2 separate regions of the Homo sapiens genome follow, and region 2 is linked to region 1. Evidence: promoter capture Hi-C in human tissues and cell types (Jung and others, 2019). All regions are on one chromosome and are shown on one strand. Each heading gives the region's core, a stretch centred on a gene start or on the middle of the fragment in contact. The rest is flanking DNA. Distances are from core to core; before and after follow the strand shown. Region 1 holds the start of WSB1 (WD repeat and SOCS box containing 1). Region 2 overlaps NLK (nemo like kinase).

What was found. Contacts are between HindIII fragments. The study calls those that stand out against the background at their distance.
Region 2: a fragment that was not itself captured here is called in contact with the fragment with the promoter of WSB1 in region 1 in 1 of the 25 tissues and cell types used here (hippocampus).

The regions. Positions count from the first base shown.
Region 1 is chr17:27,289,188-27,295,963 of GRCh38, forward strand. WSB1 (WD repeat and SOCS box containing 1) reads left to right here and starts at 4,927. Exons shown (of 9, transcript NM_015626.10): 1 at 4,927-5,248. The coding sequence starts at 5,209. It overlaps MIR4522 (microRNA 4522), which reads right to left and starts at 4,809; the gene lies at 4,723-4,809. RefSeq lists enhancers at 4,656-4,705, 5,076-5,135, 5,146-5,205 and a silencer at 4,746-4,955. The HindIII fragment of the contact is 10,527 bases long and covers 1-6,776 here.
Region 2 is chr17:28,067,130-28,074,789 of GRCh38, forward strand. The region is part of intron 1 of NLK (nemo like kinase); the gene reads left to right. Among named protein-coding and RNA genes, the nearest start is that of NLK, 28 kb to the left of the region's middle. The HindIII fragment of the contact is 5,235 bases long and covers 1-3,963 here.

The DNA.
Region 1 (6,776 bases), core at 3,677-6,176:
GGTCAGGTGTGGAATTTTCCACTTGCAGCATCATGTTGGAATTCAAAAAGCTTTGGATTTTGTAGCATTTCAGATTCTCAGATTAGGGATGCTCAGCCTGTATATGTATATGTGTGTGTGTGTATATATCTCAGGATAATAAATGTTGGTAAAAATTATGGGTAAATTGGCCTTAACAAATAACTATATAACAGTGATGTTTTTTGAATAATTCAAGAATGAGATTCAAGAGAATGGGATTTTAGTGGTTGGGTCAGCTTTGTTTTTGAAATGAATGCTTTCTAGAACTTTTGTTTATTATTATTTATTTTTATTTATTTATTTTTGAGATGGGGTCTCACTTTGTCTCCTAAACTGGGGTGCAGTAGCTCAATCACAGCTCACTACAGTCTTGACTTTACCAGGCTCAGGTGATCCTCCCACCTCAGCCTCCTGAGTAGCTGGTACTACAAGTGCGTGCCACCATGCCCAGCTAAATTTTTTGTATTTTTTTTGTAGAAGCAAGGTTTCACCATGTTGCTAAGGCTAATCTAGAACTCCTGGGCTCAAGCAATCTGCCTGCCTCAACCTACCAAAGTGCTGGGCTTATAGGCATGAGCCATCATGCCTGGCCTTTTATTTATTGTTTCAATTGTACATATACTTAATGTTATTTCACAGCTTTTTGCCAACCCTCTATTTTCTATGAGATTTTGATCTTTCAGTTTTGCAGTTAGCTAGGATTACTATATATAAAAATAGTATTTAACACATATATAGTACTCTGTGTCAGGCCCTGTTGTAAATACTAATCCTCAAAACTGTGAAGTAGGTATTATTACTATCCCCATTTTCTGGATGAGAAGACTGAGGCACAGGGAGGCTAAATTATTTGTCTAAAGACATGACATTACTAATACAACTTTTTAAGGGGAAGGAAATAACACCAAGGTGTCAATGGTGGTTTTTCAGGGTGTGGGGTTATAAAGGATTGTTAAGAGGATTGAAATGACAAGATCTTGAACTAAGCCCATGGCAGCTGAGCTGGGACAGACAGGACAGACTCTAGAACAGTTTAAGATAAAATATTGGCAAGCCTTGTGGATTGGTTGATTTCATGTTGGGATGAGGCATAGCAGGGAAGCTAGGAAGACTCACCTCTGGCACCTGTGACTGGGTGGACATTTCACTAGAGTAGGAAATACAAAAGATGGAGCAGACTGAGGAGAAATGATGTGTTCAGTTTTGACATTTTGAGTTTTATTGTAAGCATTTGAACATGTAAATTTTAAACTTAAGACAGGCCGGGCTCAGTGGCTCATGCCTGTAATCCCGGCACTTTGGGAAGCCGACACAGGTGGATCACCTGAGGTCAGGAGTTCGAGACCAGCCTGGTCAACATGGTGAAACACTGTCTTTACTAAAAATACAAAAATTAGCTGGGTATGGTGGTGTGCACCTGTAATCCCACCTACTGGGAAGGCTGACACAGGAGAACTGCTTGAGTCCAGGAGGCGAAGGTTGCAGTGAGCTGAGATCGCGCTGTTGCACTCCAGCCTGGGTGACAAAGCAAGACTCCGTCTCAAAAAAAAAAAAAAAAGACGGAAGTTAGCTCTCAACTTGAGGGTCTTCACACAGAGCTGGTATTTAAACCCAAGAAAGAGGTTGCCATCACCCAGGGAGACTGCGAAAGAAGGAAAAAAAAAAAGCTGTGGGCCAAGGACAGAACTCTAGAGAACCCCAACATCTATGCGACATGTAGGGAATAAGAAGCCCCTTCAGATTTGACATTAAAGTAGCAAACACAGATATGAAATGCCAGGTATATATTTGCTTTTCAAGCTAGGTTTCATTTATGAGAGGCAAGGTAGCATGGAAGCAGGGCAGTCAAACAAGTCTGAGTTCAGATCTAGCCCCTGCAGCTTACTCTGTCCTGTGGCTTCTCAGGTTACTAAGTGTCTATGAAATGTATGTCAATACACTGTATGTGCACTCCAGCCAGGGCGACAGAATGAGACTCCATCTCAGGGAGAAAAAAAAAAAAGAAAAAGTCATCACAATAATTCACTGATGGACACTCAAGAACTGGTATTTCCCATGAATTTGTATGGTATAGTACAAGTAACAGGGATAATAGCAGTTGGTTAAAAGAATTAACTGAGATGGATATAAATGTTGGTATATGAGCTACAAGACTGCATTAAAGTTTTTCTGTAATGTATGTCAATACACTGCTCATATGTTGTGAGCATGAAATCGGTTAATCCACAGAAGCACTTATATGGCTCAGTGCTTAGAAGTATCTATTACTAATGAGTACACAAATCATAAAATTATTTTTCATTCCATTGTCATGCTTTGCCAGTTGAGAAAATGGCCAGGAAGTCTGTTGGCTTGCAGGAATAAACTAAAATAGAAATTAAACAATTGTATTAAAAAGTCTGGCCGGGGTGGCTCACGCCTGTAATTCCAGCACTTTGGGAGGCCAAGGCGGGCAGATCACTTGAGGTCAGGAGTTTGAGACCAGCCTGGCCAACATGGTGAAATCCCGTCTCTACTAAAAATACAAAAATCAGCCAGCCATGGTGGCGTGTGCCTGTAATCCCAGCTACTCGGAAGGCTGAGGTAGGAGAATCACCTGAACCCAGGAGGCAAAGGTTGCAGTGAGCCGAGATCGTGCCACTGCACTCCAGCCTGGGCGACAGAGTGAGACTCCATCTCAGGGAGAAAAAAAAAAAGAAAAAGTCATCACAATAATTCACTGTTGGACACTCAAAAACTGGTATTTCCCATGAATTTGTATGGTATAGTACAAGTAACAGGGATAATAGCAGTTGGTTAAAAGAATTAACTCAGACTGATATGAATGTTGGTACATGAGCTACAAGACTGCATTAAAGTTTTTCTTTTGTTCTACTCTAAAAATTCAGCAACTAGGCCCAGTGCCTGATACAGAGTGAGTCCTCAAGATATCGTTGACTGAAGCTAACAAAGTGATTTATTGATTTATTTATTTATTGAGACAGAGTTTCACTCTTGTCACCCAGGCTAGAGTGCAGTGGTGCAACCTCAGCTCACTGCAACCTCTGCCTCCCGGTTTCAAGCAATTCTCCTGCCTTAGCCTCCAGAGTAGCTGGGACTTCGCCACTACGCCTGGCTAATTTTTTGTATTTTTAGTAGAGATGGGGGTTTCACCATGTTGGCCAGGCTGGTCTCGAACTCCTGACACCCGCCTCAGCCTCCCAAAGCGCTGAGATTACAGGCGTGAGCCACCGCCCCCAGCCTAACAAAGTGATTTTTTTTTAAAGACGAGGGGCAGGCAGGGCGCAGTAGCTTAACGCCTCTAATCCTAGCACTTTGAGAGGCCGAGGTGGGCAGATCACAAGGTCAGGAGTTCAAGACCAGCCTGGCCAATATCGTGAAACCCCCTCCCTACTAAAAGGATGAAAAAAATTAGCTGGGCGTGGTGGCAGCCACCTGTAGTCCCAGCTACTCGGGAGGCTGAGGCAGGAGAATCGCCTGAACCCGGGAGGCAGAGGTTGCAGTGAGCCGAGTTGGCGCCACTGCACTCTGCTCTGGGAGACAGAGCAAGACTCCGTCTCAAAAAAAAAAATAAATAAATAACCAAAAAAAAAAAAAAGGAGGGGCGATGTTTTATTAAACATTTCGCTATTTGAAGAATTAATACACTCATGCAAAGAAAAGATGAAGTAAACATGCCCTACAGTGTTATCATTTGAGATCTCTTAAAAGCGGCTATGCAGCCGGGCGTGGTGGCTCACGTTGTAATCCCAGCACTTTGGGAGGCTGAGGCGGGCGGATCACTCGAGGCCAGGAGTTCGAGACTAGCCTGGCCAACAGGGTGAAACGCCCTCTGTACTAAAAATACAAAAATTACCCGGGCTTGGTGTCACATGCCTGTACAAATCCCAGCTACTGGGGAGGCTGAGGCAGGAGAATTGCCTGAACCCGGGAAACGGAGGTTGCAGTGAGCCAAGATCACGCCATTGCACCCCAGCCTGGGAGAAGCGAGACTCCGTCTCAAAAAAAAAAAAAAAAAAAAAAAAAAAAGCGGCTATGCAACACTCTACTCTGTCCCATGAATATCTGCCACATATTTGAATTCCCAGTCTTATACGCCCCAGGCCTTTGCAATGTTTAGGGTCCACACGAGAAGCCATTAAAATGCAAATACGTCATCTGTGACCGGGAACCAAGCTGGCATCTAGCAGATACTGACACATTTATCAGTCTGATGTGTGGACAACTAGGTGCCTCCCAGAGGCCTTCAGGTAAGGTGGAGGAAGGGCCAATTCTGAGCTGACACAGTGGGATCCATCTTGGCCAGGACAGTGGGATCCATCTTGGCCAGGACAAAGGCAGTCCAGAGAGGCCCCGCGGCGCGGTGCGGCGCGATCACGCCCGAGTCTCCTTCTCGTTCCCCTCGGCCCTTCCTAAAACCTGCTGGCTCAGGTCTGAACAATCGCAGCTGGACAGGTGGTGCACAACGATGTTAATTTTCATCCTGTCTTTTTCATCAGTGCATCCTTCAGTTCCCTATTACTTGTGGGCTGGGGAGTTGGCCAAATTGAGTGAAAACCTGAAATGTCTTTTTGTTCTTTTGGTTCAGCCAGTTTAAGTTCCATGCAATCTTTAAGCTAGGAGGCTAATAATAATACAATTCTCTGCTTGCCCTTTTCAAAGCCACTTCAGCTTATAAACTCCATATTAGACCATCCAGGCCCAGAAGACGCCACCGGCCTACAGGCAGAGTCAGCGGAACCAGCCTGGGCTGGATCTCCCCCTGCGAGGCCCCCAGGCAACGCCCGCGCCGGGCCGGGGAGATCACGTCCCGTGCGTCGGGAGGCGGGGGCCTCGGGCTGTGACGTCACGTGGCCGCGCCCCTGCCGCCCAGATATCTCCGGCGCCGCCCGCCATTTTGACTCCAGTGTCTCGTTTGCAGTCGGCGCTTTAGGGGAACTGTCTTCCTCCGCAGGCGCGAGGCTGGGTACAGGGTCTATTGTCTGTGGTTGACTCCGTACTTTGGTCTGAGGCCTTCGGGAGCTTTCCCGAGGCAGTTAGCAGAAGCCGCAGCGGCCGCCCCCGCCCGTCTCCTCTGTCCCTGGGCCCGGGAGGGACCAACTTGGCGTCACGCCCCTCAGCGGTCGCCACTCTCTTCTCTGTTGTTGGGTCCGCATCGTATTCCCGGAATCAGACGGTGCCCCATAGATGGCCAGCTTTCCCCCGAGGGTCAACGAGAAAGAGATCGGTGAGGATTGGGACCGTGGGTGGGCGCATGAGGGCCGAGGAGAGGCAGGGACTCCCCGGAGGAGGTTTGGGAGGAAGCGACTCCAAGTCTGAGGGAAGAGCTCCAGTGCGCCAGGGCCAGCCCACTAGCGAGGAGGAGGAAGCCGCCTCGGTGGGAGTTGGCTGAGGGGTAAACGGCACCGACGTGGATGCAGCACCTACTGTGCTCCCTCGCGGTTGCTGTGTGGCTGGGGCGGGCAAGGACCCCGGTTTCTTCGTCGGAGGTCCGCGCAGGGCTCTTGTCCTGGGAGTTCTTGGCTCAGGGCATGACTGTCGAGTGGACAGGGAAGGGCCACTCAGGGACTTTAGGTTTACAATGGGGAAAAGTAAACTTGTGGGTTGTAAGCGGTAATGAAAGGAGGGGGTCCTCGTGTGTACCAACCACTCTTAGATAGAAATGAGATGGAAGAGGTCCCAACAGCCTGGCAAAAGCAATACAGTATTTTTAAAATGGTGTGGCCTTAAGAAACGCAGCGGTTCGGGGGAGGAGACTTTTAGAATTATCTTTCAAACACTTAAGGGAGGAGCTGGGTGGTTGGGTGGAGTGACAGAAGGAAAGCTTTTGTGCGGAAGAGGAAACTCTGGAAAAGGCTTTTCTGGCTTAGTGTCTAGCCCTGGTCGGCTTAGTAAAGGGCAATTAGTGTTGAAGGTTGTGCGTCCACACCTACTTAGTGGCTCAGTGGAAAGCACGTCGCATTATTTAAATCCTCTTTTAAAGTAAAATAACTGGAACAACGTTTGACGGTGTTGGGGGGTGCTGTACATTGGCTGATAACACTTAGCAAACACTGATCTTACTGTGTGAAGTAATAATTAGCTGCGGCCGCTGAGCAGAGAGCATTTACATTTTCCTACTCTTGAAGTGAATGTGTGCCTTTACTAAGTACAAGGAGGAGTTATTTCTAGAGAAGGGAAGAGGCTGAAGTAGCCAAAACGCGCACTATTTTGTATGTGGGTGAATTTTTATATCTAGAAACAGCTGTTTTAGAATTCTGGACTTTTGTTGTCTTAGGGATGATTGATTAGGAAGGGACTTTAACCCTGGTTTTAATAACCATTTTTAAAGATACAAACACAGAAAAAAAAGGGAAAAAATTGTAGCAGAGTTCACACAGAAAAAAGAAAAAAAAAGATGCAAAGAACACAGAATTTGTGTCCAGTTATTATTTTAACTGTATTTTAAGACTAGAAAGTATGTCGCGAAGTGGGACAAAGAACTCAAAAGTTCTTATCAGTCCAGTGGGTTTTTCTTTTACTTTAGTACACCATAATGTTATAGACGAGTGATCTGCCTTTTTTTTAAATCTGTATTTTACTTCATCCTGATAAACCATTTTGAAAACTTTGCGGTCCTGTTTTCTCTCTCTCTTTTTTTTTTTTGAGATGGAGTTTTTGCTCTTGTTGCCCAGGCTGGAGTGCAATGGCACGATCTCGGCTCACTGCAACCTCCGGCTCCCGGTTTCAAGCGATTCTCCTCCCTCAGCCTCCTG
Region 2 (7,660 bases), core at 96-2,595, 770 kb after region 1:
CAGATCATAACTTTTGGTGTTAAATCTAGAAACTCTTTGCCTGACCCAGGTCATGAAGAATTCTGCGTTTTCTTCTAAAAGTTGTATAGTTTAATGGTTTACACTGAAGTCTGTATTTCATGTTTGGGTTAGTTTTTGTACTAGATGTGAAGTTTAGGTAGACCTTTATTTTTATTTTTATGTTTTTTACAAAAAGAACATCTATTCATTTATTGAAGTTTTAACAATTTTTATGTACATGGACAATGCTTGCACACAAAGTCAGCATTCTAATGCACTTTCATGGAGTCAAATTTGCAAAACATGCATAAAACAAATTAGAACTCTCTAACAGTCTCTATGCAATTTATATCTCCAGTATTGGAAATGATGTGAAGATTAAATACATGGCACAGAGAATTGTTTAAAAAAAAAAAAAGGCTGACAATTAAAAGTAGTGGAAAAAAATTTTTAAAAGAAAAAACTAAAAAAATTCAATATATAAAAAAACTGGCATTAGGGATAGATTTGGGCAGTTAGCATGGAGATAGTTCATAAGATCTGGTCAAACATGATGCAACTATCCTGTGATGGTGACTTTTGGGATCTTAGATGTTAGAGATTGAGACTTTGGGGATTTTGCTCTTTTGGGATTTCAACACTGAGGATTATGGCGTTCAAAATTGTGTCTCGGTATTGTGATCCAAACTGTAGGTAGACCTTCTTAAAATATATATATATATATATATGGTCTGGGCATGGTGGCTCACACCTATAATCCCAGCACTTTGGGAGGCCATGGCAGGTGAATCACCTGAGGTCAAGAGTTTGAGACCAGCCTGGCCAACATGGTGAAACCCCACCTCTACTAAAAATACAAAAATTAGCAGGGCATGGTGGTGCACGCCTGTAATCCCAGCTACTCAGGAGGCTGAGGTAGGAGAATTGCTTGAAGCCGAGAGGTGGAGGTTGCAGTAAGCCGAGAGGGAGCCACCACACTCCAGCCTGGGCCACAGAGCGAGACTCCGTCTCAAAAAAAAAAAAAAAAAAATATGGATGTTCGATTGTTCCAATACCATTTGTTGAAAAGTTTGTCCTTTCTCCATTGATTTGCCTTTATACTTTTCTCATAAAATTAATTGGCCATAGTTGTGTGTCTCATTTCTTCTTTAACCTATAGATTGCTTAGAAGTGTGTTTTTAATTTTCTTTTTTTCTTTTTAGTCAAGTGCAGTAGTCAGAAGGGGGAAAGAGTAAAATAAGGAGTTGTATTTGGAACTGACTGAACAATCAAGGGAACTTAATATCTTCAGATGATCCTGTTTTTAATTTTCAAAAATGATATTTGTTTTTAGGTTACTATCTTGTGATATAATTTTGTTGTGATTAGAATATGTGGTTTGCGTGATTGATACCATTTTGGGGGGGAATTTGTTGAGATTTACCTTGTGGCCTTGTATGTGATCACTATTTATAAATATCCTTTTGTTTTTAAAACGTATATTTATTCTGCAGTTGATTAATGTTTTGTATATGTCCACTAAAGTTTGCTAATTGTATTTTAATTTTTAAAATTTTTTCTATTTTTTAGAGACAAGATCTCTTTCTGTTGCCCAAGCTAGAATGCAATGGCATGATCATAGCTCACTGTAACCTCAAACTTGTGAGTTCAAGTGATCCCCTGCTGCAGCCTTCAGAGTAGCTGGGACTATAGGCATGTGCCACCACACCAGGCTAATTTTTAAAATTTTTATAGAGATGGGATCTCACTATGTTGCCCAAGCTGGTCTTGAACTCCTGGGCTCAAGCGATCCTCACGCCTCAGCCTCCCAATGTGCTGGAATTACAGGTGTAAGCCACACACCTAGCCTTTTTTGATGTGTTTCTACTATAGTAAGTACCACCCAATCAAGATACAGAACATTTTATCACCCCAGAAAGTTCACTCAAGTAAATTCTACCATGCATCCCCCTCCCCCTGCCCTAGGCAGCCACTTTTTTGGTTTCTGTCATCTTTGATTAGTTTTGCTTGTTCTTAGATTTTATATAGATAGAATCTTACAATATGTATGTACTCTTATGTGCGAGGCTTCTTTCACTCTACATAATGTTTTTGCAATTCATCTATGTTGCTTGCACATATCAGTGTTTTTTTCTCTTTATTACTGAATCATATGTCAGTGTATGAATATAGCACAGTTTGTTTATCCATCCTTCTGTTCCTTCCAGTTTTAGACTATTCTTACATAAGTCTTTTTATGGATATAAGTTTTTATTTCTCTAAGGATAAATATCTAGGGATGGAATTGCTGGGTTGTAGAGTACATATATATTTAACTTTATTAAGATTGCCAAAGCAGTTTTCCAAAGTGGCTTTACCAGTTTGTACTACTACCAGCAAAGATGAGAGTTCTAACCCACTTGCAAATCCTTGCAAAATTTGATGGTCTTTGAATGTAGCCATTTTAGTGGGTGTGAAGTAGTATCTCATTTTAGTTTTAATTTGCATTACCATGATGGCTAATGATGTTTGCCACATTTTCATGTATTTATTGGCTGTTGGCATGTCTTTTTTTTTCCTGAAAATTCTGTTGAAGTTTTCCACCCATTTAAATGATTGGTTTGTCATTATTATTATTATACTGTAGGAGTCTTATTTCTTTTTCTGAATACCAGCCTTTTGACAGATCAATCTATTGTATTTTCTCCTACTCTGTAACTTACCTTTTCATTTTGTAAATGATGTCTTTTGATGAACAGAAAATTCTATTTTGAGAAGTTAAGTTTATCAACTTTTTCTTTTATTATTAGTACATTTTTTGGTTCAGTATAAGAAATCTTTGTCTAGCTGGGCATGGTGTTTCGTGCCTGTAATCCTAGCATTCTGGGAGGCCGAGGCAGGCAGATCACCTGAGGTCAGGAGTTCGAGATCAGCCTGGCCAACATGGTGAAACCCTGTCTCTACTAAAATTAGAAAAATTAGTGAGGCATAGTGGCCTATGCCTGTAATCCCAGCTACTCAGGAGGCTGAGGCATGAGAATCATTTGAATCCAGGAGGCGGAGGTTGCAGTGAGCCAAGATCGCACCACCGCGCTCCAGCCTGGGCAACAGAGCAAGACTGTGTCTCAAAAAAAAAGAAGAAATCTTTGTCTAGTGCCAAGGTCATGAAACTATTCTCTTTTATTTTTTCTGGAAGTTTTAAGGTTTTAATTTTTATGTTTAGGTAAGTTTTCCATCTGAAATTAATTTTTTTTTTTTTTTTTTTGAGACGGAATCTCGCCCTGTTGCCAGGCTGGAGTGCAGTGGTGCGATCTCGGCTCACTGCAGCCTCCACCTTCCAGGTTCAAGGATTCTCCTACCTCAGCCTCCTGAGGAGCTGGGACTACAGGCACACACCACCATGCCCAGCTAATTTTTATATTTTTAGTAGAGACGGGTTTCACCATGTTGGCCAGGATGGTCTTGATCTCTTGACCTTGTGATCCTCCCACCTCGGCCTCCCAAAGTGCTGGGATTACAGGCATGAGCCACCGTGCCCAGCCTGAAATTAATTTTTGTATATGGACTAAGATAAGGGTTTGAGGCATTTTTGTTGTTTTGTTTTTTAAAATACTAATTTTAAAGTAAAATATTAATTTTAAAGTAAAATACTAATTTTAAAGTAAAACACTATTCTAAAATACTAATTTTACCTATTCTCACAACATCCTTCTTTAAGAAGATTTTTTCACCCTTATTGAATAGCCTTGCTCCACTGTGGAAAATCAATTGACTATATAAATATAGTGAAATTCTAAGCTTTTCTGTTTCATTAGTCTTTTGGTCTAGTCTTATGTTAATGCCACACTGTCTTTATATACTGTAGCTTTAGAGCAGGATTTTTCCATCTCAGCACTATTGACATTTTGGGCCTGATAGTTCTTTGCTGTGGGAGGGTCTCCTATGTATTATAGGATGTTCAGCATCATCCCTTGCCTCCACCACTAAATGCTAGTAGCCACTCAGTAGGTGTGATAATCAAAAAATGTCTACAGACAGTACCAAATGTCCCCTAGGGAACAAAGTCACCCTCAGTTGAGAAACACTATTTTAAAGTAACTCTTGAAGTCAGATAGCGTAAGTCTTCCAACTTACTTGTTTTAATTCAAGATTATTTTGGCTACTCTAGAAGCTTTGTGTTTTCATATCATTACAGAATTAGCTTGTCAGTTTCTTTAAAAATCTGTTGGGATATTTATTGGAAGATGTCAACTCTGTAGATCAAATAGAAGAGAATTTTTAAGAAAGTTGAGTGTTCCATTCCATGAACATGGTATAGCTCTCCACTTTTTTTTTTTTTTTTTTAACAGCCTTTGTCAACCACTCTGATCTCCATTTATTATAGTCTTTAATTTCTCTTGGCAGTGTTTGGGAGCTTGCATTTTAGAGGCCTTGCACATGTTTAGTTTATCACTAAGTATTTAATATTTTTCGATGCCATTGGAAATGGTATTTTTATTTTCAGTTTCACTGTCCAATGTCATTGACTAGTTGTAGGCACTCCTGTCCTGCCTTCAACCTTACATTCACTTAAGGCACCATGTTACTTGAGGGCGATCCCTCTCAGCAATCCTGCTGTATCCTACGTGAAGGCTTCATCAGAAAGAATTGGCAGAACAGGTCTGGAGAGCCTCAGGTTTTAATTAATTAAGTCAAATATCTTCAGCCAATGAAAGGTTGCTAAAAGATTATTTTGGTTTCTCTTGCCCTGCTTTCAGCATGCAGTTTACTCTTCTTTCCACTGTGACCCAGGGATGAAAAGGGCTTGGAGTGTTTTCTCTCTTAGCAAGGGCTTCTCTTTCTCTGGAGTTTAGTTCATTTACGTTCTTTGAGTTCTCAGCTTTCTTGTATACAACCACCCAACTAACCAACCAACCACCCAACAAAAAGTATGATTTCATTGCTTATCTAACCTTTTCTCCTTGTTATGCAAAGTGTCATATTTCTGTGTTCTAACTGGAAGTGGTTAACCAGTTTTCTTTGTTCTGTGTTTTGGTAGATGTTTTAACTTCTTTTTTATTTTTTTATTTTCAGCATTTCTGTTCTTATATTTTATATGTCTCTGATATACAGCATACATTTAAATTCAGCTTTTTAATCTAGTCTGACAATCTTTTAAGGGAAACACTTAATTCATTTCCATCAATTGTGCTTACTGATCTTCTTTCTTCTTCTTTTTCTTTTTTTTTTTTTTTTGAGACAGGGTTTTGCTTGGTCACCCAGGCTGGAGTGCAGATGTGCGGTTACGGCTCACTGCAGCCTCCACCTGCTGTGCTCAAGCAATCCTCCAACTTCAGCCTCCCAAGGGGCTGGGACCACAGTCACATGCCACCACGCCCAACTAATTTTTAAAAACTTTTTGTAGAGACAGGGTCTCACTGTGTTGCCCAGGCTGGTCTCAGACTGCCGAGATGAGTGCGCTGATCTTTTTAAATTTGTCCCTACCACCTTATTTATATATTTCTTATGTTCTGCTTTTCATATTTTTCTCTTTATTTGCCTTCTTTTGAATTGCTTGAGATTTTCCACCCCTTATTTGTAAGTTTCATACCTTATTTTGTTCTTTCAGTTGCCCTTGAAATTTTAGTATGCATGTTTAAATTCCATGGGTAATAAATATTGTTTATTTTCGAATCTGCCTGGTCCGTTTTAATAGTCTCCTATTCTGTCATACTTGTTCCCCCTTTTATATTTTTTCAAATACATTAAAAATATTTTATGTTTGCATCTGATAATACTCTTATCTGCTGTCTTTGTTGGTCTAATACATTGGCTCTTACTTGTAGGTGCTTGTTTCTTTGGTGATTTTGTAAAATTGTGAGCCCATGACATTAGAACTTTATTTTTTGTGATTTTTTTGAAGCAGGGTATTAGATTTTTTTTTTTCCAGAGATGATGTGAGTATCTAGTAGTACCACCTACTTTTAAGTAAATTTTTGACTTGAGTTTTTCAGGCCACACCACTAGTTTGAATTTTAGTCACAAAGGGTGCAGACTTACTAAGAATTCACAGTGGAGACATATTTCTGTTTTACTCTTCTACCAAGAACCAAAGCCAATAAAGACCCTTATTCTCATTATCGCCCTCTGCAGAATGAGCTTTTACCTATTTCACTTACTAAGGATGCAGACTTTTGGGAGGCTTCTAGCATATTTGTAAAGGTATAGTTAATCCAGTCTCCTGGGAAGGGCCCCAGGTGGCCTCCTGTCATCTCAGCAAGTAGCCCATTAAAACCTAGGCTTTTGTCCACCGAGGATTGGCCAGTAACTCCAGGGAAAACTGTCTATAATGTTACTCACCTTTGTGAATGTATATTTCTTTCTTGTTTCTGCTCTCCAGGAATTTCTTTGCTTCCCTCTCAAGGTTAACCATGTATTTTATCCAGCATCTTTAGATGCTTTTCCATCTAATTTACTTTTATTCTATACTCATATCTTTAGGAATTACCTCTAGCTCTTTTTGAAATGTGGCAAGGGGAAAAATAAAGTCCATAATCGGTCCTGTCTCCCAGTTTAGAATGTCTTTTCCTATTTCAACTGTGATAAATTCATCCTCCTCTTCACTCACTTCAGATGTTCTTCTCTTTAGGTATTCTCCCCATCTGGCTCAACTCCTACCCCTATATATACCCCCGGTAGAATGAATTACTCTTTTACGTTTGTTTCTATACTTCTTTATATATATATCTTTCTTAAAGGAGAGGTATCCCTGTAGACACAAAGATAGAGACTGAATTCTATTTATTTCTATGTTCCTAGCATGTAATATGCATTCACTAAAGTTTGTTGAATTGAGTTTTCAAAGTCTTTATAACCAACTCTTGAAATTTTAAGCTTCTAGCTAGGACTGTTATAACTTAATTTGCTAGTTTTAGAAAATAACTTTTAAAGCAATTAAAGCTTATTCAACACGTTGAAGATAAAATAATTTTATTTGGTATTTGGTAAATTCCTTGGGCTAGTCCTATTTAAGGATGGATTAAAATATGATAGAAGTGTTATCTTACAATCTCCAGATGGGCTGGGGTGATGTAATTTTGGAGCAAATGAACATTCACATCCCAATTCTAAATCTGAGCTCATTTTAAAATTATACACTTGCGGGATGATCTGTGCCACAAACCATGACACACATTTGCCTATGTAACAAACCTGCACATCCTGCACATGTACCCCTGAACTTAAAAGTTGGAGAAAAAAATTACGCACTTTGTATCTGTAACATCAAGGGGAATTTTTGCCTTTGGGTTACTATTTTTAAAAAATTTTTTTAAATGGATACAGTGATAGATTTTAGAGCATAACAGTTACAAATGGAGAGGTTTCCTAAATGACCTTGATTACTTTGTGTGTGTTGGGGTAGGGGGTTGAGGAGGTTGTTTTTCTCCTGTTGCCTGAATTTAAATGTTTTTTCTATGGTGAATTACATAATTATTTCGTGGCCATTATATATTTGTCCTGCAGTTTTTTATTATTTTTTTACGAAAAGAGATCTAAGGGCCTTTAGGTGTCCATTGGCAAAGCTGATTTTATAAATATGTGTTTCTTTTGCCTAGCATCTTTTCACATATTTGAAGATATATAGATGGGAAAAGAGCAGTAGGATGAAAAAGGGAGGTGAGAAGAATTCTTCGTAGAGAGC